Linked DNA regions of Homo sapiens: region 1 is linked to region 2. The links are contacts of gene promoters, found by promoter capture Hi-C in blood cells and fetal thymus (Javierre and others, 2016). All regions are on one chromosome and are shown on one strand. The core of a region is centred on a gene start or on the middle of the fragment in contact, and the rest is flanking DNA. Distances in the headings are between cores, read along the strand shown. Region 1 overlaps ABHD6 (abhydrolase domain containing 6, acylglycerol lipase). Region 2 holds the start of FLNB-AS1 (FLNB antisense RNA 1).

Evidence for each region. The method cuts DNA at HindIII sites, captures the fragments that hold promoters and counts their contacts. A CHiCAGO score of 5 or more calls a contact.
Region 1: a fragment that was not itself captured here is called in contact with the fragment with the promoter of FLNB-AS1 in region 2 in 1 of 17 cell types (endothelial precursors); the score reaches 5.8 in endothelial precursors.

Annotation. Positions count from the first base shown.
Region 1 is chr3:58,283,556-58,287,431 of GRCh38, reverse strand. It overlaps ABHD6 (abhydrolase domain containing 6, acylglycerol lipase), which reads right to left. Exons shown (of 10, transcript NM_001320126.2): 8 at 2,293-2,347; 9 at 1,979-2,079. Among named protein-coding and RNA genes, the nearest start is that of RPP14, 21 kb to the left of the region's middle. The HindIII fragment of the contact is 1,880 bases long and covers 657-2,536 here.
Region 2 is chr3:58,169,256-58,173,076 of GRCh38, reverse strand. FLNB-AS1 (FLNB antisense RNA 1) reads left to right here and starts at 2,442. Exons shown (of 2, transcript NR_135534.1): 1 at 2,442-2,580. FLNB (filamin B) reads right to left here. Exons shown (of 46, transcript NM_001457.4): 45 at 3,284-3,487; 46 at 826-2,502. The coding sequence ends at 2,315. It overlaps LOC124909485, which reads right to left and starts at 1,300. Exons shown (of 6, transcript XM_047449435.1): 1 at 1,204-1,300; 2 at 916-1,006. The coding sequence starts at 1,300. The HindIII fragment of the contact is 5,353 bases long and covers 2,118-3,821 here.

The sequences.
Region 1 (3,876 bases), core at 347-2,846, 120 kb before region 2:
TGCTCCTCCCCACTCTCTCCTGCCTGGGTCATTCATGCACTTGTGGGTCTTTGTGGCCACAGTGTGACCTCCTGCCAGTTAAAAATTGATGCATTTAGGTAAAGGGTATGCAGGTATACTCTGTATTCTTTTTTATTTTTATTTTTTTGAGATAGGATCCCGCCCTGTGGCCCAGGCTGGTGTGCAGTGAAGCAATCACGGCTCACTGCCACCTCCATGTCCTGGACTCAAGTGATCCTCCTGCCTCACCCTCCAGAGTAGCTGGGACTACAGATGCATACCACCATGCTTGGCTACTTTTTTAAAAATTTATTTTTTATAGAGATGGGATCTCACTATGCTGCCCAGGTTGGTCTCAAACTCCTGGGCTCAAGCAATCCTCCTGCCTTAGCCTCCCAAAGTGCTGGCATTATAGGCGTAAGCCACCATGCCTGGCCTTCTTTCAAATTTTCTGTAAGTTTGAAATTATTTCAAGATAAAATTTTTTTAAGAATAGAAGGAATAGATTTGTTTGGGCTGATATAAAATGATTTCCAAGATACCTACTTATATATACATATACATATATATATATATATACACACACACACACACACACACACACACACATATATGATCTTATATATCTTATATGCACACCTATATATATCTAAGCTTTCAAACATGCATCTTAGATGCCAGTGTATCTAGCATGTTTGAAAGCTCAGATATGTATAGGTATGCATATATATACACTATACGTGTGCTTAGAATAGGAGTAGGCAAACAATGGCTCACTGCCCGTTTTTATAAATAAAGGTTCACTGGAAAAAGCCATGCCATTTGTTTACATATTGCCTATGGCTGCTTTTATACTATAAGGTCACAGTTACTCAACTGTGTCCAGGTGTGACAGAGACTGGACCACAAGGCTGAAAATGTTTACCATCTGGCCCTTTACAGAAAACATTTGCTAACTTCTGGCTTAAAAAATTTAGGCCAAGCATGTTGGCTCATGCTTGTAATCCCAGCACTTTGGGAGGCTAAGGAAGGTGGACTGCTTGAAGTCAGGAGCTCAAGACCAGCCTGGCCAAAATGGTGAAACCCCGTCTCTACTAAAAAAAATACAAAAATTGCCAGGTGTGGTGGCTCACGCCTGTAATCCCAACACTTTGGGAGGCTGAGGCCGGCAGATCATGACGTCAGGAGATCGAGACCATCCTGGCTAACATGGTGAAACCCCGTCTCTACTAAAAATACAAAAAATTAGCTGGGCATGGTGGCGGGTGCCTGTAGTCCCAGCTACTTGAGAGGCTGAGGCAGGAGAATGGCGTGAACCCAGGAGGCAGAGCTTGCAGTGAGCCGAGATTGTGCCACTGCACTCCAGCCTGGGTAACAGAGCAAGACTTCGTCTAAAAAAAAAAAAACAAAAGAACAAAAAACAAAAATTAGGTGAGCATGGTGGAGGGCACCTGTAATCCCAGCTACTTGGGAGGCTGAGGCAGGAGAATCGCTTGAACCTGGGAGGCAGAAGTTGCAGTGAGCCAAGATTGGGCCACTGCACTCCAGCCTGGGTGACAGAGCAAGACTCCGTCTCAAACGAAAAAAAGAAAAGAAATATATTCAAGATAGTAAGATAAGAGTTGCCTCATGGTAATGGAGAATGGAATTTGGGATGCGAAAAAGAAAAGTTTTCATTATAAACCTTTTGGTGTTCTTTGAAGATCTTTTTATACCATGTGACTACATGGCTTTGATAAAAACAATTTTTGAAAATGATTTAAAATTGTCTTTCCTTTTACCAGACCAAATGTTGTTTCTCTCCACTCCCAGAACTCTGCCCACTGTCAACACTGGCACCCAACACAGGTGCCTTCCCCCTCTTCCTGACAGCAGCGATCAGCTCACTCCATAAATAACCACTTGTTCTTCCTCAAGGACGTTTTTCCTCAGAGGCCCTGGTGACCAGCACAGACTGCCGCGGGGATGTGTTACATACCTGGTCTTGTTTCCCCCAGATGATCTGCGTCGGAACCTTGATCTTGTCCATGTTCTGATGGAGAGAGTATCTGGACTTCTCACTGACGATTTCCAAAAACACTTGTCAGAAAAGGAAAACAAAGTGAGTATGTGCTGGACTGTGCCTGTGGCACCACCGCAGAATCAAGGGATAGTCACCAGATCCAGGCCACCACTTCCTCTCTTCAGGGGCCCAAAGAGACATTCAAAGTGTCAGAGATTTAAGAAATAAAAGCCATCCATCCACAGAGCTTCACTTGTAACAAGCTCCAAGCTGAAAGTAGGGCTACTTACACTTTCGGTAGAAGTTGTTATGAGGGATGCGGACATCGACAAGGCCTTGCAGGATCTAAGGATAAATAACCCAAAGTTAGAGAGCAAGAGAAGATTCATTTCCTCAGGCCTCTCACAGCTCTGGGACAATGAATGGGAATGAGGTCCAGCAATTTATTGCACTGTCAAGGTCTTTAGAGCCTGGTCCTCTGAATTCCCATGATGCAGCACACAGTCTAATGGGGAGTTAGGCTTCTAAGAAGCTTTTTATTATTATTATTATTATAAAGGAACTTGGGTAATATCGTGAAACTGGAGGTGCCCTACAGCATGTTAAATACACCTGAGATGGCCTGACAGCAACTTTAGCTTGAGAGATTCTCTGCTTCACTTAAGACATAATCAGGATGGGCCGGGCATGGTGGCTCATGCCTGTAATCCCAGCACTTCAGGAGGCCAAGGCGGGCAGATCACTTGAGGCCAGGAGTTCAAGACCAGCCTGGCCAAATGGTGAAACCCCCATCTCTACTAAAAAGACAAAAACTAGCAGGATGTGATGGTGCAGGCCTGTAATCCCATCTACTCGGGAGGCTGAGGCAGGAGAATCACTTGAACCCAGGAGGCGGAGGTTGCAGTGAGCTGAGATTGCGCCACTGCACTCCAACCTGGGCGACAGTGAGACTCTATCTCAAAAAAAAAAAAAAGACATAATGAGGATGACCATAATATCAAGTAATTCGCCAGTAATATCCAAACGCAGAACAAGTTCCATTAAAAAAATTAAGCCACTGGGGGATGATAGGTCTATTAAACAACAAAGAAATAAACTATTGAAAAGATTCTGGGGAGGGTTCCACAGTCCCACTGGGAGGGTTCAACAGCCCTTTGTTTATCATTTGACACTGTCTTTGCCTTCCCTGCTGAGGGCTGGTGAGGGCTGCAGCCAATGTGGACAGGCCACATCTTCTGGACCTGGGCTACTGACCCAAAGAGGTAGTGGTGGCTGGAAGGAACACAGTTCTTCTCTTCCTCCTGCCTCAGGACTCCTGAGGTAGAGTACAGGGTTCACATTAGTGGCTGTACTCCTCTACTCCTCTCCTCTACCTGCAAACAGGTCTGAACCCTTTAATTACACTCTCTCAGGAGTCCTGTGCACTGACTGAAAGTGGGGAAGAACCAGCCATGGCTGCTATGGACTAAACCAACCCTCTGGAGCATCACTAGACTCTAACTCATTCAGCCTGGACATGAGGACAATGACAATTTGTTGAATAACAACATTGTGCTCAGCATCAGAGATTTTCTTTGTTCAGCTATCCACCTGTACCCACATATCTATTCATCTTGTGTCCATCCATCCTCCACCTCTGCTCAATGCAGCCATCCATCCTGAACCACATATGCATTTGTCTACCTATCTATCCTGTATTCATCAATCCATCCAACCTCCATCTCTGCATTAACCAGATATCCTCCCATCCATCCATCCATCCAACCATTCAGCCATCTATCCATCCTGCAGACCTAAATCATCTGTGCACTGGCACATCAATCAATTCATGCAAAAATCTATCCTGCATCTACCCACCCATCCATTGTCCATCC
Region 2 (3,821 bases), core at 1,193-3,692:
CATTCAGCAATCAAAAGCTCTTCTAGAAAAAGGAGAAACAGGCCAGTCGCAGTGGTTGACGCCTGTAATACAGCACTTTGGAAGACCAAGGCAGGGCGGATCACTTGAGGTCAGGAGTTCAAGACCAGCCTGGCCAACACGGCGAAACCACATCTCTACTAAAAAGACAAAAATTAGCCAGGCATGGTGGTGCACGCCTGTAGTCCCAGCTACTTGGGAAGCTGAGGCAGAAGAATCACTTGAACCTGGGAGGCGGAGGCTGCAGTGAGCAGAGATCCTGCCACTGCACTCCAGCCTGGGCAACAGAGTGAGACTCTGTCTCAAAAAAGGAAAATTAAAAAAAAAAAAAAAAGAGAAACAGAGGCAGCAGCAACAATAAGCACAGCAGGGTGACAGGTGACAGCTTGTTTACCAGCCCCACCCCACCCCCACAAAAGGAGCCCAGGTTCATTGTCAAAACAAGTTGCTAGTTTTGTGTCCCTTAAGGGGTTGGGAGAGCTGATCTGGGGCTCCAACGATGTGCCTGTGTGTGTGTGTGTGTGTGTGTGTGTGTGTGTGTGTGTGTTACACTGTCTTGCTCTGTTGCCCAGGCTAGAGTGCAGGGTTGCAAACACAGCTCACTGCAACCTTGGCCTCTCAGGCTCAAGCAATCCTCCTGCCTCCGCCTCCTGAGTAGCTGGGACTGCAGGCATGCATCACCATGCTGGCTAATTTTTTAATTTTTTGTAGAGGCTGGGTCTTGCTGTTACCCAGGCTGAGGGTGTTGAACTCCTAGGATTAAACAATTTATTCAGAAGCGACATCATCCAAGAACACCAAGGCAACTTTACGGAGCAAATGTTTTATTTAATAAGTTATAAGATACAATTTACAGTCGGCGTTTGATTCCAGTTTGGCTTCCGTGTCCCAGCTTACAACACCCGTGGTCCTTTCACATCAGGCTCCGGGCTGTTCCACTTTCTGTAGGGTGGGCTTTTACCCCCAACACTCGCCCCAGATACTACACCTGCCACAAGAGTGGCCACTTCCTCAGGACTAAGCAGCAAAACCTAAAGGTCTGCCTGCCCAGACCACACTACACATTTGGGCTCAGGCAACGTCCCTGACACTTTAACCTCATTCCAAAGCCAGCTCAGGTCTGCAGGAAGGCAGGCAAAATTCCCTACACCTCATTTCTGGATTTCTGCACCACACAGCTCTCACTGTTTCTGCCAATGGTGAAAAGACCACCAATAAGCTGCTGCCCTTCTCTCCCCCAACCATTCCCAACTTTCAGGCCAAAGACCCGCAGGAGTTTCATTCTGTCCTGTCTGTACAGATCATTATTTTCCAGAAAAAGTGACCCATGAAGTTGGCTGGGGCGGGTGTGGAGTGTTATGTCATGGGACGGACCTTGGGATGAGGGCGTTAATCCATGGGCCCCTCTGAGATCACTTTAAACATTTTGGTAAGACTGCCCAGGCTGATGAAGGGCTGGAGCGTGTGTTAAAAACAAGGGCTAGTGTTGGTTAAAAGGGATCTTTGGCAAGTGGGAAACTGCTCGCCACTGCAGAATTTCTTCAGACCAAGGAAGGGACTGAAACGGACTTGGAAAACTAAAGCAAAACCATGACTGCCGGGATGGTCTCGTGTGGTGATTCTGCAAGAAATAATCACCAGAGCGAGGGGACAGGTACTTGAGAGACATGTGGGCCTGGCTGCCACTCTGCCCTCTGAGTTTCTGTAGGGTGCCCGGCTGCCACTCTGCCCTCTGAGAAGTGTAAGAAGGCCACAGAGCATGGGGGTGTTGGCGATGAGGAGCGGTAAAGCAGTGCTAGTGATCTAATAGCCAAATACATTAACACGGACACTGGAAGAGATTAAGCGGATTTTAAGTCATCTCCTTTGCCAAATGACAACCAAACTAGGTGTCCCCTTTTTCTCTGCCCATCTTCCCCTAGCCTTGTTTCATAAATGCTGAAGAGTGAACCAGCAGCTCAGGCTAGCCAGTTTTGTTTTTTTGAAATGTCAGTCTCATTGTGTTCCTGGTCTGTCTGCTGCAGTGGCTGGTCTGTTCCACCAAGAGTTCTGGTTTGCACCTAGTGTACTCAGGATCTTCTCAGCCCCCTGAACAAGCTTGCATTTCTTAAGATTCTCCAATATGTCCCTCAAGAGTCCAGTCTAGGACTTATTTCTGAAGGCATTTTACAACAGCAATATTTTAGGGATGGGGTTTCAGCCCCACAAACAGGCTGGAGGGCTTTGTATAAAATGAATTACAAACAAGCAACAAAAGCAACCACAAGAACTCTCTCCAGGATTTGAGAAAACTGTTTTAAGGCACTGTGACATGAAAAGGGCTGCCAGGGATGTGTTCCTCCCCCCACTTCACAGCCAGCACATAATCGCCCCTCTCCTTGACGACGTATGTGACGTTGTATTGCTGGTTGCCTACATGCTTCATGGAGACCTCCTCGCAGGGGGTGGTGGGCCCATGGACCCCGATCAGCAGCATGTTGGAGCCTAGGAGGCAAAAGGTGGTTACTCCACCCGGATGCATCAGGACAGGCACAGGAAGAAGAGGAAATATGAGAGCCAAAGGTAAGGTGCTTCCACGATAATGCTGGGGCCCCTAAGAGGTGGGAGAGCGTGGCAATTACAAGCAGAGGCTCATAGAGCCTGACGGTGTGGGTTCGAATCCCTGCCCTGCCACTTGCTACCTGGGTGACCTTGGACTGGAATCTCACCTCTCCCTAGCTCAGCTTCCCCATCTGTAAACAGGGAATGAGAACAGCACATACCTCACGAACTAGTTGTGAGGTTTAAGAGTTATGGGTGTCAAAACCTAGCACACAGTAAGGGCTATTCTAAGTGTTGGCTATGAGAATCTTCTTGTTTACTCTCACAAGCACCTTAAGGAAGGTACTTCCGAGAAGAGGAAACTGACTTTTGGAAAGAGATTTAATAACTTTCCAAGGTCACATGGCTAAATAAGTTTTAGAACAAACGAATGAATGAATGAAGTGGCGGTACTAGGTTTCCAGCCCAGGTGTACTGGATGCCAGAACCCAGGCAACCGACCCTTGAAACCCAAATAAATACCCAAGTTCAAAAGGCAAAAGAGAAGGAAATCATTTAAAAATATTAAGTGCAGGAGAACAGGGTCATGACGATGGTTACTTGCAAACGGCTGGCCTACATGGGGGTGGGCACTGCAGGAGACCTCAGCAGGGAAGGCCAGTGTACCCAGGGTGCCCAGCCTGCCCCTGCCCCACCCCACCCTTGAAAAGGCCCAGACACCTACCAGCTTTGCTGCAGTCCACCAGGAAGGAACTCTTCTGGCCCACAAAGGCCTTTGAGAGCCCTGCCCCCTTAGAGGTCACCTTGCTGGCGTCCGAGGATGCCTTGGGAATGGCGCTATAGCAGGTCTCTGTAGACGACCTGGTCACTGACTCCACCAGGATGGATGAGGTCTCGTTGGCTGAGCCAGGGCTAACTAGACGCTGGCCTAAGATACAGGAGGGAGGGGGACAGGCATGAATGGCCAGATCAAGAGGGGTCTCTCAGCCAGAGGACAGGCGAGTACCCTACACAGTAACCCCAGGAGAGCCCGCGCACCCCAACACAAAAGCCACCACACCTGTATCTCACACCCATAATGTCTTCTAAACCCCTAGGATCCCACCCCCATACAACTAGGATCTGGCTTTCTGGGCAAATGGATGAGTCTGGCCTTGGCTGACAAGGCCAAGGACCCTCCCAATCCCCCCACCCCCTACCCACCAAAGATGTGCCTGTGGAATTCACATCTTTCTATTGACATAAAATAGTCTATGTATAAG